Linked DNA regions of Homo sapiens: all the other regions are linked to region 1. The links are contacts of gene promoters, found by promoter capture Hi-C in blood cells and fetal thymus (Javierre and others, 2016). All regions are on one chromosome and are shown on one strand. Each heading gives the region's core, a stretch centred on a gene start or on the middle of the fragment in contact. The rest is flanking DNA. Distances are from core to core; before and after follow the strand shown.

Region 1 (3,820 bases), core at 942-3,441:
CCACTGCACTCCTGCCTGGGCGACAGAGCAAGACTCCGTCTCAAATAATAATAATAATAATGAGAGCAAAAAAGAAAGAAAAGCCAAAACAAGCCTCAGAAACTGCCATTTGTTTAATATCTGCATTAAAAAAATTATCCCTTCCATCAGATGAAAAATACCTTATAATTTATGATGGATAATACATTAATTCGTAGCACACTAGAAACAAGGGATTCCTTAAGACACATATGTGGGGTTTTTGTTGTTGTTGTTGTTGTTGTTGTTATTTTTATTATCTTTAAGGATAATTTGTTGGGTAGGGGTCAGTGAGTTGGGAGTCCTGATTGGTTGGGTCGGAGACGAGACACGTAAGTTTAAGTTCTATAATGAAACGCTTTCAATCATGTCAGTTTATCTGTGCCTATAAACACACTCCTTTAGAGAAAATCAAAAGTTTATAGCCAGGCGCGGTGGCTCACGCCTGTAATCCCAGCACTTTGGGAGGCCGAGGTGGGTGGATCACCTTAGGTCAGGAGTTCGAGACCAGCCTGACCAACGTGGTGAATTACCATCTCTACTAGAAACACAAATTGAACGGGCGTGTTTGTGGGCACCTGTAATCCCAGCTACTCGGGAGGCTGAGACAGGAGAATCGCTTGAACCCGGGGGACGGAGGTGGTAGTGAGCCAAGATCGCACCACTGCACTCCAGCCTGGGCAACAAGAGTGAAACTCCGTCTCAAAAAAAAAAGTTTACATATAAGGCTCTCTTAGTATCCCTGGGAAGAGGGTTCATCCTGTCTATGAACGGGTTTAGGATGACACAAATTATCAAATTATCCGATTAGTGCACTTTCCTAACCCATATGTTTAATCAGTGGCACATCCTGGTTTTGAATTATTTAAACGCATTATTATTTAGCCATTCACATACTTACGTTTGTCACTTCCAGTTAAACTGTAGCCACCTACAGAGAGCGAAACAGAAGTCGGCTGATAAAATTTTGATAAAATTTCATTTGCCCGCAGCTGGTCATTTCATTGGGCGCTTTTGTGTTACAAAAGTGTGTGAATTGGCCGGGCGCGGTGGCTCACGCCTGTAAATCCCAGCACTTTGGGAGGCCGAGGCAGGTGGATCACTAAAGGTCACGAGTTCGAGACCAGTCTGGCCAACATGGTGAACCCTCCCCCCCCCCACACACACACACACACCCCGCGTCTCTAGTAAAATACAAAAATTAGCCAGGCATGGTGGTGCGCGCCTGTAATCCCAGCCACTCGAGAGGCTGAGGCGGGAGAATCACTTGAGCCTTGGAGGTGGAGGTTGTAGTGAGCCCAGATCGCAACACTGCACTCCAGCCTAGGGGACAGAGCGAGACTTCCTCTCAAAAAAAAAAGACTTATGAATTGTTTGAAGAGGCACGAGACCGTGGCAACCCTAACTGTCCCCGACATCTGGCAGCCATATGCTATCCTTGAACTTGAACTTCAGAGTGAAAGTATAAATTTGTAAGGGGAAGGCTCAGCCGCAAGTCACATACCAGTGGTCAGTTAAAAAAAAAAAACTCAGGACGGCAACCTAAATCATTTAGAACGCGTCAAGAGCCTCGGAAAAACTATTTTCACACACTTCTCTAGCACTAACATGGGAAGCGCGTTTCCTTCACATATTCCACACCTTTTATTCTTCCCACCAACATCAAGAATACAAAGCGCCCAGAGAGGACAATAAGCCTAAGCAGCGGCTCCAAGAGACCGGACTTTCGTACTTCCCGGGGGCAGGCGGAAGGTTACGGAGCGCTGGAAGGATCTTACTGCTCCTTGAAGGGCTGTCTGAGAAAATACACAGCCTAACGACTCCTCGTTAGTATAGTGGTTAGTATCCCCGCCTGTCACGCGGGAGACCGGGGTTCAATTCCCCGACGGGGAGGTGTGTAGCTGCACTTTTTTGGCGACAGTTATTATTTTCTGTATCATTCAATGACAGGACACTGCTGTTAAACATAATATGCTAAACCAGCTCCCTTAAGTGCACAACCCTGTCTTCAAAATGGTGACTTTTAACCTTAATGCCCACCATGAAGTGAAAGCCTCCCCTGAGAGAAAATGCCTTACATTGTTTGCAGGAAGGGAGGAAAGGGAAAAAGAAAACGCTCTGAAGGCCTCTGCCCTTGCCTCCAGCCGCCATCTTGCGAAGGCCTGCGCCGGCTTAGTGGCGCCCCGCCAGATTACAACTCGAGGTCGCGAACTCAGCGCGCGGAACCTGTTGGGGGAGGGGAGAGAGGGCGGAGTCTCGCGACTAACGGGGCGGGGGCAGGGCGGGTAAGAACGGAAATCATTTGGTAAAGAAAAGGAAGGGCCAATTTCCTTTGATCCTGGAGACCCGACTAAACGGGAAGCCCCGTTCTCCCGCTTCCGCTGGTTACGTCCCAGCCTTGGTTAGAGGACTAGCAGTCAGGAAAGTTTGGACGCTGAAGGAATCGGTCTCCTGGTCCGACAGATACTGGGTGGAGGGGCAGAGAGTAAATGGAAGAGAAAGACTGGTACCCCTGGAAGAAACGCCATTTACTGGTGTCCTAAGAAACTGCGCGAGCCACAGCCCAGCAGGACCTCGTGGCGCAACGGTAGCGCGTCTGACTCCAGATCAGAAGGCTGCGTGTTCGAATCACGTCGGGGTCAAACTTTTTTTTTTTCCTCCTGTATTTTAAACTACCGACTACTAGAAGCCGAGGTGTATTCCTGCCGCCAATTTTCTTGAATGTTAGAATTAAGTTTTCCTCTTTCAGGTATTATGATACTAATCCTTGGTTTGCAGGAAGATATGATTTACTCTATATCGAAGAGCCTCAAGGCTGATGTTTTTATCATTTGGCCTTTTAAAGTGAGTTTTTTTGTCACTTAACATGCATAATGTGTAAAGAGGTGGACTATTACTGCTGTGCATTAGTGGGTGTATCAGTCCACTAGTCTATCACAGGAAGTGTACAATATACTGTACAAGCTGTTTTTTCCAAACAGTTTTAGGCTGTTTGCCTTTTGAAAGAGAGTACAATAGTGTACAATTTCTAATTTTGAATATTATGCTAATCAAGTGTCTTAGCCCTTACCATGTGCCAACACTGTGAACAACCTCACAATGTGTGACTATTATCCCACTTTTACAAATGTGGCTGTGGCTCACAGGGTTAGTGACCTGCCAAGGGTCACCCAAGATTCTGAACCAGGTGAGGGACTCTGGATCCCTCTTTATAAATACTTTATAATAAAGGTGGAAACAAACAGTTGAAAGAATGTGTGACTGCCAGGCTCAGTGGCTTACACCTGTAATCCTAGCACTTTGGAAGGCCAAAGTGGGTGGATCACGAGGTCAGGAGTTCAAGACCAGCCTGACCAACATGGTGAAACCCCATTTCTACTGAAAATACAAAAATTAGCTGGGCATGGTGGGGTGCACCTGTAATCCCAGCTACTCCGGAGGCTGAGGCAGAAGAATTGATTGAACCCGGGAGGCGGAGGTTGCAGTGAGCCTGGGTGACCAAGCAAGACTCCTTCTGGAGGTGGGTGGCGGGGAGGAATGTGGGAAAAGCTGTTGGACTGGGCGCCTTTTATGTTTTCACCGATTATGCGAGTGATGACTAGTCACCACTTTTGACTATTAATCTCTTTAATAGCAGGAAGCAAAGCTTGCTCGTTCACATTTGCAAGCTCCAGGACTCTTAGTACTAAATAGTGCCCTACACGTAAGTGTCAAATATTTGTTGAACAGAAAATGAATAGCAAGACTATGAGAAATTAATAGTTTTAGATTTTGATGATATGTTTTGTAAAATTCCTGAGGT
Region 2 (3,820 bases), core at 453-2,952, 2.0 Mb before region 1:
GCTTCAGCTTTAATTCTTTTTTATAGATCTTTTAAATATTTATATTTCAAAATCTTTTAGTTAATATTTCATTTACAGCTCTGATAAATATTCCATTCTTTTTGCTGGTTTTTCTATGATGTTTTTATAAATAATTTCATTCTTTTATTCATTTGGGTTTTACCATTTCATTTTGAATACTTCTAATTATTATAAAGTTAATTATGCTGTTTCAATATGTATTTTTAAAAGCTCTGTTTTAACCTAAATAAAAATCTTAGGAAAAACTCTTACCTCTGTAAGAAAAGAGAAGGTAGGGCATGAAGTTCAAGTTTTGTTGAAGTTTTTTTGAGATGGAGTCTCACTCTGTCACCTAGGCTGTAGTGCAATGGCATGATCTTGGCTCACTGCAACCTCTGCCTCCTGGGTTCAAGCGATTATTCTGCCTCAGCCTCCCAAGTAACTGGGACTACAGGCGCGCGCCACCATGCCTGGCTAATTTGTGTATTTTTAGTAGAGATGAGGTTTCACCATATTGGCCAGGCTGGTCTCGAACTCCTGACCTTGTGATCCACCCGGCCTCCCAAAGTGCTGGGATTACAGGCGTGAGCCGCCGCACCCAGCCCCTTGTTGAAATTTTTAACATGTCAGTTGATCTATGGATTGAAAAGGTACACAAGCTTATGAGTAGGGAAGCTAGTGCTTGCGGGAAAGTAGTTCAAGGCAACTTTATCCCTGCTTTTGTTTTTCTGTCTTTCTGACTTTGCCCTAAGAAGAGAAATAAAAGCAAGGGAATTATGAGGAAATCTTCCAGCTGGATAAGGATTCTAGAAAAGCCTACTAAAACTACGGTTCTTATTTACTGGCAAACTAAATGCAGAGAACAGGTCATTTGATGGAGAGAAGAATGAAGTGTGGCAGGAAGCATGTGCAGGAAGTGCAGTCATTTTGGGCCAGTACAAAGCAGAATGACTGGGAACCCACAGCAGGTTCTAAACAGTCACTAGCCTGTTAGCATAAAGCTGATCAATTCTTTCTTAGAGTTAATTACCACAAACCTTGTTATTTATACTACTAAATACTGTTTCAAATTTTGGCTTGAAGACCTTCTGCATGAGAATATCCTGTGGTGCTTATTAAAAGTGTCCTAAACACTTATTAAAAGTGTCCAGACACACAAAATCTCTGGAAATTTGGTCTTGAATCTACAAAGCACCCCTGAGTGATTCTTAGGTAACCAAAGTTTGAATATCAGTTCCGAAGGCTATAATGAAGATACTATAAAGCATATGGAGATATATGCTTGCTTAATAAGCAAACCATAATAAACAACCTTTTAATGCTGCCTTGGAAACACAAGCATATGAAGAAACAACAAAGTCTTTGATGTAATGGCAGCATGATATCTCTAATGAAATCTGGAGTGACATCTCAAAAAACCATAAAAGCAGGTATCTAATTGTTAGACCAACTGCTCTCTGTTTTAGCATTGTAAGCATGCCTTACTTTTCTTTGCCTTATAACAGGTTTTTTTTTTTTTTTTTTTTTTTGCCTGAGACAGGGTCTCACTCTGTCACCCAGGCTGGAGTGCAGTGGCATGACCTTAGCTTGCTGCAGCCTCTACCTCCCTGGGCTCAGGTGATCCTCCCACCTCAGCCTCCCAAGTAGCTGGGACTACAAGCACATTCCAACATGCCTGGCCAATTCTGAAATTTTTTTGTTGAAATGGGGGTCTCACTGTGTTGCCCAGGTGGTCTTGAACTCCTTGGGTCAAGCAATCCTCCTGCCTTGGCCTCCCAAAGTGTTGGGATTATAGGCATGAGCCACTGCGCCCACAATATAATAGCTTTAACAAATGGACTGAACTTTTTTTTTTCTCAATTTCAGTTATCATGGCCACGAACTGTCACAGAGCGGCTACTGGATGAGATGTTTGATAGCACTGCATCCCAGTTTCTGGCTGTCTTGGAAGCTCTTTCTGATTCAAATAGGCGAATACTGCAAACTGGACCCATTGTTACAGATGAAGTGGAGATTCATGATGTTGTCTCAGAATTGTTTATGGCAGGAAAAGAACTTTTGATAAGTAAATAAGATGTTAAGATATTGTTTTATGATAGAATGATACACATGAGTAACAAAAATTTTAACATGGTAGTCCATACATAGGAAACTGATAACATTTATATTGTTTTTTTTTTTTTGTTTGGTTGTTTGTTTGTTTTTGAGATAAGGTCTCTCTTTGTCACCCAGACTGGAGTGCAGTGGCGTGATCATGGCTCACATTGCAGCATCAACTTCCTGGGCTCAAGTGATCCTCCCTTCTTAGCCTCCCAAGTAGCTGGGACTACAGGTGCATGCCACCACACCTGGCTAATTTTTGTATTTTTTGTAGAGACGGGGTCTCACCGTGTTTCCCAGTCTGGTCTCGACCTCCTGGGACAAGCAGTCCACCCATCTCAGCCTCCTAAAGTGCTGGAATTACAGGTGTGAGCCACTGTGCCAAGCTGATATAATTTATATTGATCTTGAATTCAGAAACCTTGCTAAGGTCAATTGATATTTCAAATAATGTATTAGTAGATTTTTGGGGGGACTTGTTTTGTATATACAGTCATCTATGAATGACTTATTTCTGTCCAATCCTTAATCTTTTAATTTCTCTTTTCTTGCATTTCTTGATGGTTGCACTGGCTAGGATCTCCAATAACACATGGGAAGAAGTGGTGATAGCAGACTCCTTTGTCTCATTTTTTTCCTCAGTTGGAAAGCTTTCAACATTTTGCCATTATTTGAGATATCTACAGAATAATTTTTATAGATACCCTTTTGCAGATCACAGATGTTTCTTGTATTCCTGGTTTGCTAAGTGTTTTTTTTTGTTGTTGTTTTTAATCTTGAATAGTTTAATTTTAGCAAAAGCTTTCTCTGAATTTATTGAGATTTACTGAGTCGATCAAATGGCTTTCTCATTTATTTCTATTAATGTGGTTGATTTTATGGATTGCTTATTTCTGCTTCTCTGTTGAAGGGAGAGACTTTTCTTTCTTGTAATGTTATTTTTAGGTTTCGCTCACAAGGTCATATTAGCCTCATAAAATGAGTTGAGAAGTATGCCCTCTTTCTCCATTATCTGTAAATGTTTGTGTCATATTGGTGTTATTTCTTCCTACATGTTTAGTTGAATTTTCTGGTGCAGCCATCTGTACCTGGAATTTTTTGTATGGCAATATTTTAAATGATGAATTCAATTTCCTCCATAGATATAAAATTTTTCAGATTTTCTTTTCAGTATTGGTCAGTTTGCTTTCTCTCTTATTTCATCAATTTCACCAGGGGTCCACCAGTTTCATTAGTCTTTGCAAAGAAACAATATTTGACCTTGTTGATCTTCCCTATTGTATGTCCATTTTCCATATTATTGATTTTTGCTCTTCATTACTTCCTTTATTATACTTTCTTGGGTTTGCTTTACTGATTTAAAAAACTTATTGACTTGGAAGCTTAGATCATTGATTTTTAGGATTTGTTATTATTTACATTAAATGCATATTAAGACATTTGTTCTAAATTCAGCTTTAGCTATGTATCTGAAGTTTTGATATATCATATCTTTATTACTATTGGAGTAAGAATATTTTCTAATACGCAGTGTGATTTATTCTTTGATATATGGGTTCTGAACCAAAATATGGGAGATTTTCTAATTATCTTTTGGTTACTGATTTCTATGTTAATTATACTATGGTCAGAGAGCACATTATGTATTATTTGGAACTGTGAACATTTGTTAAGATAGGCTTTATGGCCTAGCACATGACCAGCTTTGGTAAATAGTCTG
Region 3 (3,820 bases), core at 861-3,360, 1.9 Mb before region 1:
CTCTGGGTTTCCTTGAATTTTTTCTTGGCTTTATTGAATTGCCATCCTAGCACAGCTGATCACTTTGTTCCCCTACCTTGTCTTTCTTTAGCATGCTGTTGCCAGACTGATGTTCCCTACATTAGCATTCTTATTCAATAATGGTTGCCTGTTGATGTCCATGACATAAATATGATGCATCTGTATTTGGCATTCAGAATTTTTTTGCAGTCTCATCCTTCTTATCTCCAACGATTATAATCAGGAAAGCTTAATTAGCATTTATAATATCCTTGGTATTGAGAGAATGATGCACTATTTTCTGCTCTGCATTGCTATCTCCATGCAGATGTTTCCTTACCCTTTGCCACTGCAGATGCCTTCTATTCTTCAATGGTGTATGTTAACATCTTTTCACGAATCAATTACTATCACATGGTGGCTCATGTGCATTAGCACAAATAATTAAAACTCAGTAAAAGGGGTTTATTGTAAGGTTACTATAGCTACCCTCGCATATCTCCAAGGACCAAAATACTACCAGGTCTCTTAAGCACCAGACCTGAAAATCAAGAATCAGTGCTACAGTTTCCATCTCCCTGGGCTAGTATAGTTGTATATAGTTGTATCCTTTTTTCCCCTCATCCACATTCCTGTCTTTACTGAACCACCATGATGGTCAGTCCCAATTGTATACCAGTATCAACAACTGGCAAGTTCATGTTTTAGTTCAAAATCTTGAGACAGGCTCTGATTTCATCAGCCACAGCTGGAAGATAGTGGAGGTCTTCGTGTGTTACCCAGAGCTCTTAAAGGGACCTTGGATGAAACAGTTTTTCTAGAAGGGGTGTTGAGGACAGAGTTTGACAGCTTATTGGTATTGGTATCAGGACTTGCCATCTGTACTTCTGTGAAAAGGTAAAGTCAACAGAAGTAGGTTGGATTCTATCAATCCTCAGGATGACTTTATTCAAGATGAGATAGAAAATCAAATATTTTTATAATTTGGAATTTCTTCTGTCCTGAGGTATACTGTGGCAAATAAAAGAGGATTTGATAAAACTGCATTATAGTAGATTTATATGAATTTTTATCTATTAATGAAAAAAATGACATGACAGAGGAAGCAGTAGCTTTATGAATAGTTACTCCTTAGTATTTAAAAAATATTTCCTCTCTTGGATACATACTTAATTGTTATGACAGTCGTCTTCTTCTTCAGTTTTGCAGACTCCAACTGTTAGCAAAGATATTTCTACCAAGGGTCCGGAAAAGTTAAAACAATCTGGAAGCACTGATTGTTTTACAGGTAATTAAAATTGGGATAACTGGTATTTCCAAAAAATTTGGAAGATAGTTTTTAATCTCACCTTTTTGGTAAAATGTTTGTTTTTATAGAATTAAATATAATGAATAAAATAAAGAAGAATACATTATCCAAAGCAATTTACTTAATGCAGAAAGCTCTTTTAATATTCGAGAAAGATGCAACTTCTACATCTTCATGGGAACTTTTGATGGTAACAGTATTTCATTTCTTCTTTTAATCCTGACATAAAATTTCTGTTAAAATGAATGATTCATTTCCTTTATTAAAAATAATGTGTTGCCCTTAACATTTAATTATGAACTTTCAGATTCACTATATATAATTCATCCTGACCAGGGGAACTAATTCGTACCTCCAGTTCTGAATTCTGAAATGAGAGATTCTCTTTTTATCAGAACTTCATGCAATCTACATGAGAAGACAAATAAAATCAGAAGGACTCAAAATGAGGGAAATTATAGAATTGGAGTGACACTTTACCAGCTTAATGTATTCTTTACAATGGAATTAAAATTCTTAAAGTCCATTGGCTGAGGTACCTTCTCTCTTAGATAGATACTGCTAATTTATGGACCAATCCCCTTGTTGATATTTTTAATCGGGTCTCACTCTGGCCTGGAAATTCTTCTGCCTTCTTGCTAATTCATTATATGTTGATTTTATGTGTTTATTTTTTGAGACAGGGTCTCACTCTGTCAACTAGGCTGGAATGCAGTGGCGCAGTCCTAGATCACTGCAGCTTTGAACTCCTGGGTTTAAATGGTCCTACCACCTCAGCCTTCCAGTGGGTGGGACTACAGACATGCCACCATGCCAGAATATTAAAAAAAATTTTTTTTGGTAGAGTCAGACCCTTAGTATGCTGGCATTGGCTGAGTGAATGATGTATGAAGATGTACAGAATAATGCTATGTCTTGGCTGATAAGAGAAGGAAAAAAGTAGGTCAAAGCTAGGAGGGGGATATGGAGCTAAAGGGGTTTAATGAGAAAATTTAGCATAATAGTATGCTAAAAATGAAGTGCCAGAACAAAGAGAAATTGAAGATAATAAGAGGGAAAGGTTAATACACAGAGCCAAGGCCTATAGAGGATGATTTTGAAAGCACAGATAAAGGGATTCATCTTCAATGATGGGTGGGCTGCAGGGCAGACACCTCATCTTTTGATACAGAAGGGAAGGAGGAACAGACAGATGTAGATAAGAAAAGTTTGTTGGTGTGAAGGCAGGGAGTTGAGTTGATGCCTTTTGATATGCTTTGACTGTGTCCCTACCCAAATCTCATCTTAAATTGTAGTTCCCATAATCCCTATGTGTTGTGGGAGGGACGAGGTGGAGATAATTGAATCACGGGGGAGGTTTCCTCCATCCTGTTCTCATGAAAGTGAGTTAGTTCTCGCAAGATCTGATAGTTTAATAAAAGGCTTGCCCCTTCACTGGGCACTCATTCTCTCTCCTGCTGACATGTGAAGAGGATGTGTTTGCTTCCTCTTCTGCCATGATTGTAACTTTCCCAAGGCCTACCCAGCCATGCAAAACTGTGAGCCTCTTTTAAATCTCTTTTCTTTATAAATTACCCAGTCTCGGGTATGTCTTTATTAGCAGTGTGAGAACAAACTAATACACCTTCTTACCTCTGTCGGATGCAGTGGGAGGCAAGGATATCTGCCATCAATGGAGCATGAGGGTGGAAAATTGAACTGGGAAAGTAAAGATAATGTGGAGAGTGGGGAGGAATGGATGAGGGAGTTGACTCCAAGTAAAGGGACTGGCCAGCATCACTAAGTTCTAGCTGAAGTTGGAGACCAAGAATTTTTAGACATCTTGATCCGTATGGTGGTATGACATTATCCTGATGTGGTGTTCTTAATGACAGCAGAATATTTGTGACAGCAGACATTTGTGGAGGATTAGATTTTTTTTAAAAAAAATGAAGGTATGAGTTAAAAGTTTATGGCTTTAAAAACGTGGATACAGATTGAGTAGGGAGGGAAGGCATGAAGGCATTTAAAGACTTGGTGTCTATGGAAATATCAAGAGACTGGACATCTTTATGAGGTCAGGTCAAGGACCAGAAAATGAGGGTCTGAGGGAGCTAGAAGGATAGGTGTTTGAGGTTAGAAAGTAGAATACTGAAATTCAAGATTCCTGGTATGTAGCACTTACTTGTTATCTGTCAATCTATTCATCCATCTAACAAATAATTTTGATCCATTTCGCAATTATGTATTGGAAGTTCACTATGTGCCTGGTAGTATGCTGAGTATAGAAGGGGGGAATCTTTTATTTATTCAACAAATATTGATTGATTTACCTTCTTTTTGTGGTTCTGCCTTTGTGGTCCCTGGATTTATTCATATAAAAATCCAGTCTGTGGAAACATAGACAAGTAAATATATGCTTTAATTGCAAGAGGGCTAGGGAAAATTAACAGGGGAGTACCTAACTCAATAGTGGGGAATGTTTAAGGAAACATCCAGGAGAAATCACGTGAAGTTGAGTGCTGAAAGACA
Region 4 (3,820 bases), core at 803-3,302, 1.9 Mb before region 1:
ATAAAATTAAACTAAATATAAAAATTATCAAAGTAATATCATGTTTCAGAAAATGTATAAATTGGAGAAAAAAATTGGCCCATTATTTACCTATCATCTTACCATTTTATCATCCAAATCCTACTGCTGTTCTTATTTAGGGGTGTTTTCTTCTAGGCTTTTTCATATGTATTTTTATATTTTATTTAAAATAATATATTTTAGTATCTTGCTTCTCTTTCCACTTGCTTTTTTTGTCATACATTATCATGTAAAATATGAAAATCACTTGAGTGTTAATCTTTTTTTTTACATCAAGACAAAGTCATTTTAGGAGTCAACCCTGCCACTATCTGTCTGATCTTAGGCAAAGTTATTTAACATCTCTGCATCTCCATTTCCTGTGAAGCAAAATGACAATAGTAATCCCATCTCATAGAGTTGTGCATATTAGAAAATATCTGTAAATTTCCTAACAGTACTTAGCAGTAGGAACTGTTCAATTAATGGTGGTTAAAATAATTAATAATGAATAATATCTTAGTCTTAATTGCCTCAGTAAACTAGCTAAGGTTACTTTTACTCTTTAAAGATTAAACCTAAGTATATTTGTAAACTTGGATTTCATGTTTTAAAACCTGAATCATTACATTTTTATTTAGAAAAGTATTTTTTTTGTTACATTGATATAAAAGAATGCCTTTTAAACAGGCTCATTTTTCTCGTCGGCAGGTCTCCTGGTACTGCATTTTGGGTTGCAAAGCAGAAGGAAGTTATGGAAAAGTACGGCTAAACAATAATCATCTCCCAAATTCAGGAGAAGCGGTACGTCAAATTAAACATCAGGAAATCTTACTGAAGCCTTTAATGATAATTAAATTTTTAAATGAAGTCATTGTTTTGGTGAATCTCTCTAATTTCCACCTGAATCATAACTAAAATCCAACAATGAAAGAAAAAGGTTTTTTTTTAATAGAAGGTTTACTTAATTGTATTTTAAAAGTCATGTTATTTTAATTTTTCATGTATAACTTGAAATATATTTTTCTTAATAGATACCAGCTGACGGTAAAAGTGTTTTTGAAGTGAAAGGTTTAGAAACCAATGAAAAGTATGTATTTGCAGTTGCTGCCTATTCTAACAACGGAAAGCTTGTCGGTGGTGCTATTGGGGAGACAACTAAACCAATTCTGGTTTATCCCCCTCTTTCTACTATTACTGCTCGGATGTTCCTGACACAGGTAGAAAAGATTTCTGCTAATTTTTTCCACTGTGTTTTTTTTTCCATTAAGCAGTTATGAAGTAATTTCTGATGGAAATAAAAATCACAGCAGATATTCTAAAGCTCCTATAACACATATTATCCATTACTACAGTTTTGTCTCATAAAATATGAATCATTCCTTCTCTTATTAGTAAATTTGCTTTTTGACAATAACATTTTTTCCCCTGGATTACAAATGTAACACATATATATTAATTTTAGAAATGCTGGAAAACACTGAAATGCATAAAGAAGAAAATAAATGTTATCTGTTATCCTATCATCCAGAGTAGCAGAGTTCTTACCCTGGGGCAATTTTGTCAATGTCTAGAGAAATTTTCAGTTGTCACAAACTAGAGGGGTGCTACTGGCATCTAGTGAGTAGAGGCCAGGGAGGCTGATAAACATCCTACAATGTACCGGATAGCCCGCATAGCAAAGAATTATCCAGCATAAAATGTCAGTGGTGTCAAGATTGAGAAACCCTAATCCAGAGATATCCTTTTATTTTTGTGTATCTATCTGCCTATTTATCTATCTAATTAATATATATATATATATACATGCACACACACGTGTATATGAATTTATGTACAATATATAATTTAAATCATAGTATACATATTATTTTACATCCTGATATTTTCACTTAACATATAATTGACATTGCTGTATTCCATTAAGTATTCTTCCAAAACATAATTTTTAATGGTTCCATGGCATTGAATCTTATGGATATATAATAGTTTGTTAGTAATTCTCCATTGCTAAACATCTAGATACTTTCCAGTCTTTTGCTATTATAAACAAAGCTATGATGCCCAACTTTGTATATAAATCTTTACCTACATCCATGATTACTTTCTTAGGGTAAATTTATAAAAGTAAAACTTCTGGATCAGTAGAGGCAGAGAGACCTGAGTTCAAATTCCAGCTTCTCACACTATCACAGCCATGTGATAGTGGACAAGTAATTTTCATCTGTGAAGCAAGAGTAGCAGTAGTAGCTACTTCCCAGAGGTATTATGAGTATTAAATGGAATTATGCCTGTCAAATATTATCACACAGTAGGCATTGAATAAATAGTATTGTTTTTAGTTAGGGATATACTCATGAATTAATGTTTTTTGTCGAAATAGTTGTTGCCTGACTTAAAACATGTCATCAGTGAAGAGGATGCTAGGAAGAGTGACTCATTGACATAGGTCTCAAGTATCTAATTTTAAGCCTATTCTTGACTGTAGAGCTGATGGCTTTTCTAAATTTTGTCATATTTCTATTCTATTTTCTCTTAATAGTTGATTAGTAATATAAGATAAGATCTTAGTGGCATTTTATATAGCATATTTTTCAAAGAAAATTAAATTGAGAGAATTACTAGGATTTGTCTAGTATTGGTTTAGCGTGTCATACTGGCTCATGGTTTTCTGATGTTTTGGTATCTTTGGAATCTAATATATTCCCTAATTTGCAGTGATGGAGTTATTGTGAGGAACTGAATATTTCATCAAGGCCTAATTTTTCTCCAGGGAGTGGTTTGACTCTTGGGCTTAATTTGGTAGAACTTTCATTGAAAGTTAATAAAACTAAGTCAGAGCTATACTGCTGGGATAATGAGTAGTGTCATGAAGTAATGACCTGTGTTTCTTTACTGACACTATATTTGCAGTTCTGTAGTTTATTTATGATGGTTTATGTGCATTCTGTCTCATAATGTTAAGAGGCTAAAGCAAAGCTTTCTCACTTATTAAACCTCCTTAATTTATAACTTAAGTTTAAGCTTTTAAGTTTCAGCAAGTTAATGTACCTCTATTTTGTAAGTGCAATCTAATTTTCATGAGAGTGGTTAGTTTCTAGTTTCAGGACAGTTCTTTTCTTTAAAACATATTATTATAAATATTTGATAGTAAAGCATGGAGACGTTTCACTAAATGCCTGTGATTAACTTGGCTTTTGGGACTTTAGGTTGTACTTTTTACTCAGCATTATTCTGTAAATATTAATAAAATCAAGTGAATCTCTACTAGGCTTTCCCTAAATGTAGAAGGCTATTAGTTTAGTGTATCTGGAAATTTTTTTTTGAGGAAACTTTTTGAATTATCTATTTTCTGTGGCTATTTTCTCTTCTTTTTAGACTATTTCTTTTTATTCCTCCTCGTTAAGTAGAAAATGACTAGATAATATCATATAAATGTAGAAGAGTAGAAATCTGTGAGCAGGATTCTGATCTTGACCTTGGAGACTGATTTTAGGCAAATTGGTCTCAATTTTCCTATCTGTAAAATGGATGTAAGACAAAATGCCATATTTGAGTGAATTGTTGAACTACCAAATCAAGTAGTGAGTGGGCACAATGGCTTACTGAGATAAGAAAAGGAGGAATATCGTTTATTTAAGAACTACTGTGTACCAGGCATTTAAAATTTATTATTCCACTTATTATAATAACTCCATGAGGTAGTATGATTACTTTTCTTTTATAGTTGAAGGAACAGATTAATTTAATCCTTCCTCTGCCAAACCCACTGTATCCCTAAAAGGGTGTCTCAGGGAGGTTAAGAAATGTACCCAAGGTT
Region 5 (3,820 bases), core at 649-3,148, 1.9 Mb before region 1:
ATCTGAGAGAAAATAGAGTTTGACCCCTATTTGTACCATGTACAAAAAGTCCAGATTTATCAAAGACTTAAGTGTAAAATAAAGCAAAAACTTTAGGAAAAATTTCCCAGGAGATGACGTGTGCAGTCCGGGGTTTGGGGGGAAACATTTCTAACCAAGACTGAACTTCTAACAGCAACAAAGAACCTATGTGTAACAAAAAGGACTATAACAAAGATAGAAGAACATTTACAGATTTGGAAAAAAAATATCTCCAAATGCGACAGAGGGCAAGTATATATACATGTATAACAAAAAGTCTTACAAACTGACAATAACCTAATAGAAAAATAGGCACAGGATATGAATAAGCAGTTCACAGGAGAGCAAATCCAAGTGAGTGAGAAACATATGAAAAGATGCTCAAATTCTAAATACTCATAGAAATTCACATTAAATTAACAATGTAATATCACTGGCAGGATTGAAAAGATTTGCTGGTGAAGATGTGGGGCAATTGCATTCTCATTCATACATGGGGGAAATGTGAATTGTTACAAGCATTTGAATTTTGGTAAAGTAATTTTAATTTAAATTAAATTAAATCTAATTTTAAGCAAGATTAAAAACAAATATACCTGACACGGTAGTCCCTCTGCTAGTAATTTATCCTGTAGAATAAAATTTTAATAAAATTAAAAATACATTTATCTGACACAACAATTCTTCTGTTAGTAATTTATCTTATAGAATAAAACCTCCATTTGAAATAATGTCACTCCTAGTTCCACCTCTTGGTTCCTGGACCTGAGGAACCTACTGGGACACAGTGTTATGTACTGTCATTGGTTTAGAATGTATACTGTGTTCTGGAGGATGGTATCTCATCTTCACTGGGTATCATCTCAAAGCCGGCATCTTGATTGCTAATCATAGTTGGCAACTGAGCATGTAAAAGGGTATTTACTGTGACATTCTTGGTGTTGGCAAAAAAGCTGGTGACAAAGAGAAGTAACAGTACCCCCAGATTGTACAACCATGAAAATGTGTACCATGAAGTCCTAGAAAAGGCTGAGTAAATAATGGCTGATCCACACCAAATAATATTATGCAGCCATTAGAAACAAACAATGAATTAGAGCTATACCTGTAGACTTACAGCATTTCTCACCAGACATGGTTGTCCAAAAACCATGTCTGGTGAGAAATGTTCACAACCAAAGATATGGTTGAAGGAAAAAATACACACTTCAGAAAAGTATTTATAAATCCCATTTTGTAAAACAACAACCCTCCTAGGTACATTATGTTTTTATACACATGTATGTATTTATATTTATATGAGCTTCGGGAAAACTCCAAAACTACTAGGGTGTTCACATGATTTAGGGATATGATATGGTAGCATGGGAGAGGCTGATTAGGGTGGGGAGGAATTTAAAAAGTCTTAGAGATGAGTGTACTGTAACAATAGTAACAGTATTGTTAGAATGAGAGCTTGAAGCAATTAATGTGCCCCCAAAGAACCAACATTCATATATTAATTTGTCCTTTGGGTTAATCTAAATGGTGAATGATTGATGCAATCTCACACTACCTTTGAAAAGCTATTCGTCTAGCTCTTGATCAAATTTAAGATCATATAATACGAAGCAAGGAGAATAGGAAGTAAGTACCAATATTAGTTGATTTCCTGAGATATGAATGTTTGGTTTTAATTTTAAAGGAAACTATTATTTCAAGTACCTGGAATCACTATGTAATATTTAATATGCCATATAAGCTTCCATTTGGTTTTTCAAGTTCCTTCTATACCTGGATGTGATAGTTTTTCAAATACATGTCACATTCTGACTATACCTTTTATGATACTTATCAAAATATGCTTTGTTTTATAGTCATTTGTGTTTTATTTTATTCTTTCCACTGATTTTCAAGTTGCTGTAGGTGAAGGACTAATCTCAAAATTGAATGTATCAACTTTATCTCAGTGTACTCTCCTTTATTCCTAATAAACAATTTATCAATAATTATTGATAACAAAATTTTATGTCTTAAAGCTTGCATTATTTGAATGGAACATTTTCTAATGAAATGAGTAAGGATGACATTTTAAAACAAAAATCATTGTGATTCTAATTTTTAGATCCTGATAAAGTGTATAGTGGTTTTGCAAGGACTACCAAGTATTGTCTGCTCGAAGAAACATACTGCGAGCTTTGAAAGTATACAACACATGATAGCTTGTTGTATTTTCTACATAACAAAGGTATTTATCTCATTCTTTATCTAGTATTATAATATTTAGGAGCGATGATGATTTGGAAAGTCTACTTTTAATCACAATAAGAACACTTTTAAAAATGGCACCCTAAAAGCATTTTTAGATCAAAAGCAAATGTAGAGGCCAAACATTATAGAATAGCAATCTGTTGTTGAACTTTTTGATGAAACTGTGGTGCTTCACAAACTAAAACTTGATGTTATTGAAATAGCATTAGTATATCTATCTATATATTTATTATTATACTTTAAGTTCTAGGCTACATGTGCACAACGTGCAGGTTTGTTACATAGGTATACATATGCCATGTTGGTTTGCTGCACCCATCAACTCATCATTTACATTAGGTATTTCTCCTAATACTATCCCTCCCCCAGCCCCCCACCCCCCAATAAGCCCTGATGTGTGATGTTCCCCTTCCTGTGTCAATGTGTTCTCATTGTTCAGCTCCCACTTATGAGTGAGACCATATGGTGTTTGGTTTTCTGTCCTTGTGATATTTTGCTGAGAATGATGGTTTCCAGCTTCATCCATGTCCCTGCAAAGGACATGAACTCATCCTTTTTTATGGCTGCATAGTATTCCATGGTGTATATGTGCCACATGTTCTTTATCCAGTCTATTATTGATGGACATTTGGGTTGGTTCCAAGTGTTTGCTATCGTGAATAGTGCCACAATAAACATACATGTGCATGTGTCTTTATAGCAGAATGATTTCGAATCCTTTGGATATATACCCAATAATGGGATCACTGGGTCAAATGGTATTTCTAGTTCTAGATCCTTGAGGAATTGCCACACTGTCTTCCACAATGGTTGAACTAATTTACACTCCCATCAACAGTGTAAAAACGTTGTATTTCTCCACACCTTCTCCAGGATCTGCTGTTTCCTGACTTTTTAATGATCGCCATTCTAACTGGTGTGAGATGGTATCTCATTGTGGTTTTGATTTGCATTTCTCTGATGACCAGTGATGATGAGCATTTTTCCATGTGTCTGTTGGCTGCATAAATGTCTTCTTTTAAGAAGTGTCTGTTCATATCCTTTGCCCACTTTTTGGGGTTGTTTGTTTTTTTCTTGTAAATTTGTTTAAGTTCTTTGTAGATTCTAGATATTAGCCCTTTGTCAGATGGATAGATTGCAAAAATTTTCTCCCATTCTGTAGGTTGCCTGTTCGCTCTGATGATAGTTTCTTTTGCTGTGCAGAAGTTCTTTAATTAGATTCCATTTTTCTATTTTGGCTTTTGTTGCCATTGCTTTTGGTGTTTTAGTCATGAAGTCTTTGCCCATGCCTATGTCCTGAATGGTATTGCCAGTTTTCTTCTAGGGTTTTTATGGTTTCAGGTCTTACATTTAAGTCTTTAATCCATCTTGAGTTAATTTTTGTGTAAGGTGTAAGGAAGGAATCCAGTTTCAGCTTTCTACATATGGCTAGCCAGTTTTCCCAGCACCATTTATTAAATAGGGAATCCTTTCCCCACTGCTTATTTTTTTCAGGTTTTTCAAAGATCAGATGGTTGTAGATGTGTGGTGTTATTTCTGAGTCCATTGG
Region 6 (3,820 bases), core at 513-3,012, 1.8 Mb before region 1:
TGAGTTCAAGGTTAGCAAATTAACAGTATATATTAAATATACTGTTATATATCCTTAGCCATAAACACACATTAAACAAGGAGGCTGTGTATTGAGCAGTTAATGAAAATGTTGTGACCAGAGGCTCTCGGGTACTTTTCTCCATGTCTCCCCTAGGAGCAATGGCTCAGTATCCAGTAATCAGTGTTTGCAAGAACTTTATAGAACATAACTACTGTGAATAGTAAGCACCAGCTGTGCACACAAGAAAAGGTCACTGTCATGCATGCTGACGCTTGCTTTCACTTTCCTTTTCGTTTTCTGTTGCCTTTTTCCTTTTTGCTGAACTCTCTTCTCTGGTAATTAGATACCAAGTTCCTTTTTGGTCTTCCATTCATTGTTACTTTTCAGTACATGAAAAATATTTGCTAAAGAAGAAAGAGACAGTATTTGTATTATTTCTGAACTCACGTGATGTATGGTATCCTTTCCTTAGTCGATGTTACTGATGGAAGCTGAGGACAGGCTAAACTTCCTTCTGTCCGAGGTGGAACAGAAGACCCTGTCTCAGTGCTCCGCTGGCGAGCTGGAGATTGTGGTGGAGGCCCGGCTTCAGCTGGCTGCAGTTGCTCTGCAGAGGCACCGGGCGGCATACAGGTGCGTCTCTCCATGCACAGGGGAGGGATACCTTTGAAGAGAGTTCCTTCACCCTAGTTTATTAAATAGACTTAAATTTTATGTAAGTTTTAGAAATTCCTATATCCATAGTATGCTTGCTTTTTATTATTCAGGGAAGTTTTCATACATGATTTCACTTAAAATTATAGCTCTGGCTGGGTGTGGTGGCTCATGCCTGTAATCCCAGCACTTTGGGAGGCTGAGGTGGGCAGATCACTTGAGGCCAGGAGTTGGAGACCAGGCTGGCCAACACGAAGAAACCCTGTCTCTACTAAAATATGAAAATTAACCAGGCTTTGTGGCGGCACATGTAATCCCAGCTACTCGGGAGGCTAAGGCAGGAGAATCACTTGAGCCCGGGAGGCAGAGGTTGCAGTGAGCTGAGATTGCCCCTCTGTACTCCAGCCTGGATGACAGAGCAAGACTCTGTCTCAAAAAAAAAAAAAATTACAGTTCTCAATAAAGCAATTATTTTATGAAGGCACACAGCTGGGTTGTTTAATTTCATATATAGAATGAACAAATTAACAATGCTTTGATTTTTTTATACATTTAATTTACTTTTTAAAAAGACTAAACCTTTTTACGAATAAAAGCTATGGAGTGTTTTCTTTTTTTCTAAAACATTGACTTAAAATATTAAAAACAAACCTATTTTGAAAAAGTAAGTTTCTGCATCATATTGCACTGAACTGTTTAATAAACTGTTGTAGGTAGCTAATTATTTAAATGTGCTGCAATTGTTAGTGTCAGCTCTTTCATTTAGTTTGTTCATCGATTTATTTATTTAGTCAACCAGTATCTGTTAACTCTCTCACTGCCAGGCTCTGATCTAGGCAGTGAAGATATAAAGATGCATAGAATACAATTTCTGTATCCATATGCTCACAGATATATAAGCAGTCAGGTAGAGTAGTAAAAATAATATTACAGCGCTTTTTTCATATTTAATAATATGGACATCCACATTCAAGAGTTTCTCCATGCCATTTGTGATAAACACTTCTATCATGAGGTCCTCTGACACATTCAATAGTGATTCATCTAATAATGCATACATTTCTTATCATTCATTAATTCGTTTAAAAAATAAGTTTGTGCACTTTCAATATGCTAGGCACTGTTCTAAGCTCCTGGCAAGTATCAGTGGCCCAATACTCATATATACAGTCTAAACAAAATATATAACAATATTGTGCAAAATCTTGCCCTATATTCTAATAGATAATAAACATGCTGGCAATAAACTATAAACACAAGTAAATTACAGAGTGTGGGCAAAAATGATAAGTGCTATGGAGAATATAAGGAGTAGAGGTTGGAGGGGGACGAGTTACCATTTTAAAATCGTGTGGTTGTAATAAGTGTGACTCCATTTTGATGTTCAATGGCTGACAGCTTTCAAGCCCGACCACTGTCCTTCTCTTTCTGCCCCTGACCTGAGCAAGCAGATAAGAAAGCCCATCTGTTCCCTCCTTTGGTGTTAGTGGAAAGTTCAAACCATGTAAGTCCTGGCCCATGTGCAGGAACTCTTACCTCAGTGCCACCCACCAACCACCATAAAACTCCAAGCCAGTCTCTTTTCCTTACTTTCTCCATACATTTTCCCACCTGTTTGGGAACCTGCTCTGATCTTCTTGCAAGGTCTCTTTATGTGAGCAGTACCCCATTTCATACCCTCTTGACGTGTGTGTATCTGGGATCAGTCGTGACATCTGAACCACATTTTGGGTGGTCAGGGCAGGCTTCATTGATGAGGTGACATCTGAACAAAGTACTTAAATGAGAGAATTATCCATGCAAATATCTATAGACAAAGTGTTACAGGCCATGGAGACATGCCTGATACATGTTTGAGGGACACCTCCAGGCCTCTTGTGGCTGGGGTGGAGTGAGTGAGGGGCAGAGTTGCAAGGGAGATCGGCAAAGAGGTAACTGGTGGACAAGGAGATTACATAAGACCTTTTGGCCAGGGTAAAGACTGACTTTGAGTGAAGTGGGGAGTCATTGTGGAGTTTTGAGCAGAGGAGTGACATGATCTGATTTTCATTGTAAAGGGTTGGCTCTTGCTGCTAGTGTGAGAATTGATTATAAGAGGAAAAGGGTGTGAAAGCAAGGAGATGAATTAAGGAGGCTATTATAATAACAGAAATATGGTGGTGTTTCTTACCAGTGTGATAGCACTGGAGGTAATGAGAAGTATTTGGATTCTGAGTAAATTTTGAAGGTAGAGCCATTCTGTTTTACAGATATTGGATGTAAGTTGTGAGAAAAAGAGAGGAGTCAAAAAAGAAGTGGTCATTAACTGAAATGGGGAGGTTGTAGGGGTGCAGCTTATTTAGGGGAAACACCAGGAATTAAAATTTGGATGTATGTAGTTTGAGATGCCCTTAGATGTACAATTGAAGATGTCAAGTATTCTGAGAGTCTTTAGAATATAGACAGTGTTATTCAAATCTTCCCAGCATAAAGAAAAGATAAATGTGTAAGGTGATGGATATACCAATCACTGCTATTTAATTATTACACATTATGTAATGTATCAAAATATTTTATGTACCCTGGAAGTATATATGTCTATTAAGCATCAATAAAAATACAATGATAAGAATAATACAAATTTAAAAGTACAGTATAACAACTAAAAAAAGTAAAGACAGAATTTTAATACTGGATGAGCTCCGTTAGGGGGTATAAATAGATGGAAGAGAGAAAAGGACCAAGGATCAAGCCCTGAGTTTTGTACTCCAACTTTACGAGACTGGGGAGAAAATGAGGAACCAGAAAGGGGACTGAGAAGAAGTGACCAGTAAGATAGAAGAAAACCAAGAGATTATGGAACCCTGAAAGCCAAGTGAAGAAAGTGGTTGAGGAGAATGGAGTGACCAACTGTGCCACAAGCTTCTGATAGATTGAGTAAGGTAAGGATAGAGAGTTGACCCCTGGATTTAGCATGGAGGCCAATGGTGACCTTCACAGGAGTAACTTTAGAAGATGCTTGGGAAAGATTATGTTTAGAGTTGTTTATGAGAGAATGGGAAGAGAGAAACTGGAGCCCACAAATAAAGATGATTCTTTTTTTTTTCTTTTTTTAAATTATTATTATTATACTTTAAGTTTTAGGGTACATGTGCACAGTGTGCAGGTTAGTTACATATGTATA
Region 7 (3,820 bases), core at 782-3,281, 1.6 Mb before region 1:
TACAGCCTCTTGAGGATCTCAGCTTTATGCAAAGACCTCAATTCTAACTTGCAGCCTCTGTTGTACCAGGGCTCAAGGCACTAAAACCTAGGCCCTTAGGTTAACAAAACCAAAAGCTTCATCCAGTGAAGCTGCAGTACTAGCTCATAAGGTCACCACCTTGGATTTTATTTCTTCCTTTCTTTCATTGGGGATTTCTTTTTCTTTCTTACAAGCTCAGCTATAAGTTAAAGGAATATTTGTTATATTTCTCCAGTGTTTCTAGGAGTTCATAGTGTGCAAATGAGGGAATTAACTAGCCAACAATATAGCCAGAAAATACATCTCCAGTATGATCCCATTGGATCAACCAGGGTGCAAACAAGAGGCACATAAAGTGTATATTCAAATGCTTAAAAGTTACAAAGGAAGCTCTAATTATTTTTAACTAAAATGTATTCGGTCCTCCTCACTGGACAAATGCACTTCATAATGACCTGGGAGGCCAGATTATAATGTCAGATTCTCACATTCCTTGGTGTTCTGCAGAGGACTAGGCTACATGAGGAGAGACGGCCCCCAGTTGCGGCCTGTTTTCTTTCTCTTTTTACCACTGGCTCCTTCCAGCACTGTGAGGCCTACACATGCATGTGGACCTCCCACCATTCTCCCAATGTCAAACTCTGCCCAAACCCTTGGCAAACAGCCACCCTTGGCTACTCCTCAGGCCTCAGAGCTGTGTATACAAATAGCAAGTCTGGCCTCTGCAGGGAAAATCTAAGAATCCTGTGGCAGTCTGGGCAGGGAATTCCAGGAATTTAGGTACCTGAGTTTAAAAAAGGCAGAGTGTGGGCTCCAGGCAGGCCAGTCCCCTTAGACCTATGGACCTGGTTCTGTGGGGAGGAGAGCAGTGGCCAGAACACAGCCTTCTAAAGCACTGTGCCTCGGGCCAGACACTCTGTTATCTGGTTCTCAGGGTGGCCCCACAACCAACTGCCAAAATATTTCCGCTTCTGCTACCTGTACTGTAAGTTGGAACTTCCCTAAGTTATTTTTTACTTGAGCTATTGCTATAGCTTCCTAATTGATATCCTGGCCACCAGTGTCACTGCTGGTCATTAGAAACTGGTTCCAAATCCTAGCCTGACTACTTATTAGCAGTATAACTTTGAGCAAGTGACTTAACCTTTTTGGAACATTCACTTGCTCAGCAAAATTGCTCCTAAGTTTCAAACTCACAGAAACTATGAGAGATAAATGTTTATGGTTGTTTTGAGCCATTACAGTTTGGAGTAACTTGTTATACATAAATGAATAACTAATGTATTATCACCCCACCCCACTTTTGAAATCATGGTATAATACACATTATTCCAGAGGGGCTTTCTGAAACCTAATAGAATAGAAAACAATAGTAAAGGTCATTAACTAGAAATATTTTAAAGCATTCTACTTGTTCTATTGGTTCCTTAATAGTACAAGCACCAATTATTTTAAGACAATGACTGAAGAAACCTTACAGGCTAACTAAACTGGACACATGTCATGTCAGGTCCCTCTCTCATGGCATATGTGCAGATTCTACATGGAGGGGGACGCTGTGCTGTGTCCTCCACTCCAGCACTAAGCCCTTCTAACCCTACAGTAGTGTGGTTCCAACACTCCTTAAAGTCTATCACTAAGTCATAGAGACCTTACTCTTCTTGATATTTATTTGGTAACATTGAAGAATAGGCTGGTTTGGTTGGTCAAACATTATATTTAACACTTAACCAGCATTACTGGCTGGGTGCAGTGGCTCAAGCCTGTAATCCCAGAACTTTGGGAGGCTGAGGCAGGCAGATCACAAGGTCAGGAGTTCGAGACCAGCCTGTCCAACATGGTGAAACCCTGTCTCTACTAAAAATACAAAAATCAGCCGGCTACACTGGAGGCTGAGGCAGGAGAATTGCTTGAACCCGGAGGCAGAGGTTGCAGTGAGCCGAGATTGCAATGCTGCACTCCAGCCTGGGTGACAGAGCAAGACTCTGTCTCAAAAAATAATAATAAAATAAAAATAAAAATAAGTAATAAAATAAAAATATTTAACCAGGATTATGAAATTCAAACTGCCTATTGAACCTGGCTAACAACTAAGATAGACATGATCATAATTGTTGTTTACAATGTAGAGAATACTAATTTACTATATTTCTATTCTGAGTCACTAAAATCTGTTTCTAATTTCTTTAGTTTTGTCATTTATATCAGCGGGCCCCAGCGTTTTTGGCACCAGGGACCAGTTTCATGGAAGACTATTTTTCCATGGACCAGGGTGGGGATGGTCTCAGAATGAAACTGCTCCACCTCAGATCATCAGGCATTAGATCCTCATAAGGAGTGTGCAACCTGGATTCCTCGCATGCACAGTTCACAATTGGGTTCACGCTTCTCTGAGAATCTAATGCCATGGATCTGACAGGAAATGGAGCTCAGGTGGAAATGCTTGCTCCTCTTCCACTCACCTCCTACTGTGCAGCCTGGTTCCTAACAGGCCGTGGACCAATACCGGTCCACAGCCTGGGGGTTGGGAACCCTTGATTTATATGTTCTTTTGCTCACTCATTCAGAGTGTATTTATGAAGTATTTTCTATGTGCTAGTTCCAATAGACAGAACAGACTAAATAAGACATTTGCCCTAGAGTCTAATGAAAAAGAGAGAATTTATAGTCTAATAGAAGATAAGTCTAGGCACGGTGGCTCATGACTAATCCCAGCACTTTGGGAAGCTGAGGCAGGAGGATTGCTTGAGTCCAGGAGTTTGAGACAAGCCTGGGCAACATAGCGAGACCTTGTTCTATTAAAACTAAAAAATATATATTAAAACAGAAAGGTGCTTTTAGAAATATAAAACCTTTGCATGAAGGGGAAGCATGTATGTGTGCATGTGTGTATATACACACATAGGTCTATTCATCCTCCAGGTGAAGAGGGAGTGCTATAGTTTTTAAAAAGTACTGAAGTAGAACATGTGCAGAGAATTGCACAAATCCTGAGTGCATGGCTCAATGAATTTATTAGAATTGAAATCACTTAATAACCAGCACTCAGATAAAAAAACAGAATTTTACTAGCACTCAAGAATCCCTTTTCTTGTCTACACTTTGGCAGAGGGGAGGAAATATATCAAACAACTTTTTTTTTCTCTTTCAACAATCTGCTTAACGCATACCTTCCTGCATCGTGAGTCACTCAGACCATTGTTAGTCAGCCTTCAAAAATAGTTTCTCTGAGACAATTCTCTCCCTCCTCACAAGCTAAACAGTGATTAACGTCCAGGTGAACCAGAATAAAAATTTCCAGCTGTCAAATTAACAGCCAGAAAGCATTTTTTTTCTTCACAAAAGATGTGTCTAGACTCGTGAAAATTAGAAAGAAAAAATATTCATTAGTTCATCACGTAAAGGGTTATTCCCTCTAACATAATTCCTAGGTTTTCTCTAGTTTAAAATGAGTTTGACTGTTCTTATTTAAAGTCAAGTCATACACATAAAGCAAACCTAATGCGATCTTTATTACAGGAGTAGACAGGAAGCACACACCAAGCCAATTAGATACTGTAGTCCCATAATGTTGCATCAAAGCTGTGGCATGTTATTAGAGACCAAGTGATGTACAGCATCTTTTATTTTGTGTTTAGAAAGCATGGGACAGCTATCTGACCCAAGGGTGAACCAATGTGGATACCGACAGGCAAAGCATCCATTGAGGTATAGGAATCCAGAGGAATGGTGTTTAAGTCTCCTTGAGATGCTAAAGACACTTTTGCGCTAGGTTCTCCTTTAATCTTTCTGAGAATAT

The links. Contacts are between HindIII fragments. The CHiCAGO score rates a contact against its expected background, and 5 or more counts as called.
Region 2: a contact is called between a fragment that was not itself captured here and the fragment with the promoter of LINC02453 in region 1, in 5 of 17 cell types (naive CD8 T cells, non-activated CD4 T cells, M0 macrophages and 2 more). The highest score is 7.8, in naive CD8 T cells.
Region 3: a fragment that was not itself captured here is called in contact with the fragment with the promoter of LINC02453 in region 1 in 2 of 17 cell types (naive CD8 T cells and total B cells); the score reaches 7.7 in naive CD8 T cells.
Region 4: a contact is called between a fragment that was not itself captured here and the fragment with the promoter of LINC02453 in region 1, in 4 of 17 cell types (naive CD8 T cells, non-activated CD4 T cells, total CD4 T cells and 1 more). The highest score is 16.6, in naive CD8 T cells.
Region 5: a contact is called between a fragment that was not itself captured here and the fragment with the promoter of LINC02453 in region 1, in 1 of 17 cell types (total CD4 T cells). The highest score is 9.8, in total CD4 T cells.
Region 6: a contact is called between a fragment that was not itself captured here and the fragment with the promoter of LINC02453 in region 1, in 3 of 17 cell types (non-activated CD4 T cells, naive CD8 T cells and total CD8 T cells). The highest score is 8.2, in non-activated CD4 T cells.
Region 7: a fragment that was not itself captured here is called in contact with the fragment with the promoter of LINC02453 in region 1 in 1 of 17 cell types (total CD4 T cells); the score reaches 6.7 in total CD4 T cells.

The regions. Positions count from the first base shown.
Region 1 is chr12:98,501,664-98,505,483 of GRCh38, forward strand. LINC02453 (long intergenic non-protein coding RNA 2453) reads right to left here and starts at 2,192. Exons shown (of 4, transcript NR_038383.1): 1 at 2,097-2,192; 2 at 920-949. It overlaps TRD-GTC1-1 (tRNA-Asp (anticodon GTC) 1-1), which reads left to right and starts at 1,840; the gene lies at 1,840-1,911. TRW-CCA4-1 (tRNA-Trp (anticodon CCA) 4-1) reads left to right here and starts at 2,589; the gene lies at 2,589-2,660. RefSeq lists enhancers at 1,930-2,239, 2,250-2,549. The HindIII fragment of the contact is 12,452 bases long and covers 1-3,662 here.
Region 2 is chr12:96,525,380-96,529,199 of GRCh38, forward strand. It overlaps CFAP54 (cilia and flagella associated protein 54), which reads left to right. Exons shown (of 68, transcript NM_001306084.2): 9 at 1,867-2,065. Among named protein-coding and RNA genes, the nearest start is that of CFAP54, 38 kb to the left of the region's middle. The HindIII fragment of the contact is 2,091 bases long and covers 658-2,748 here.
Region 3 is chr12:96,563,267-96,567,086 of GRCh38, forward strand. CFAP54 (cilia and flagella associated protein 54) reads left to right here. Exons shown (of 68, transcript NM_001306084.2): 18 at 1,202-1,288; 19 at 1,378-1,499. Among named protein-coding and RNA genes, the nearest start is that of CFAP54, 76 kb to the left of the region's middle. The HindIII fragment of the contact is 3,726 bases long and covers 248-3,820 here.
Region 4 is chr12:96,579,886-96,583,705 of GRCh38, forward strand. CFAP54 (cilia and flagella associated protein 54) reads left to right here. Exons shown (of 68, transcript NM_001306084.2): 21 at 712-804; 22 at 1,035-1,220. Among named protein-coding and RNA genes, the nearest start is that of CFAP54, 92 kb to the left of the region's middle. The HindIII fragment of the contact is 1,849 bases long and covers 1,129-2,977 here.
Region 5 is chr12:96,596,520-96,600,339 of GRCh38, forward strand. CFAP54 (cilia and flagella associated protein 54) reads left to right here. Exons shown (of 68, transcript NM_001306084.2): 26 at 2,126-2,248. Among named protein-coding and RNA genes, the nearest start is that of CFAP54, 110 kb to the left of the region's middle. The HindIII fragment of the contact is 277 bases long and covers 1,761-2,037 here.
Region 6 is chr12:96,719,930-96,723,749 of GRCh38, forward strand. CFAP54 (cilia and flagella associated protein 54) reads left to right here. Exons shown (of 68, transcript NM_001306084.2): 50 at 476-636. Among named protein-coding and RNA genes, the nearest start is that of NEDD1, 190 kb to the right of the region's middle. RefSeq lists enhancers at 207-386, 407-516. The HindIII fragment of the contact is 3,587 bases long and covers 1-3,556 here.
Region 7 is chr12:96,886,529-96,890,348 of GRCh38, forward strand. No RefSeq gene overlaps it. Among named protein-coding and RNA genes, the nearest start is that of NEDD1, 19 kb to the right of the region's middle. The HindIII fragment of the contact is 3,834 bases long and covers 115-3,820 here.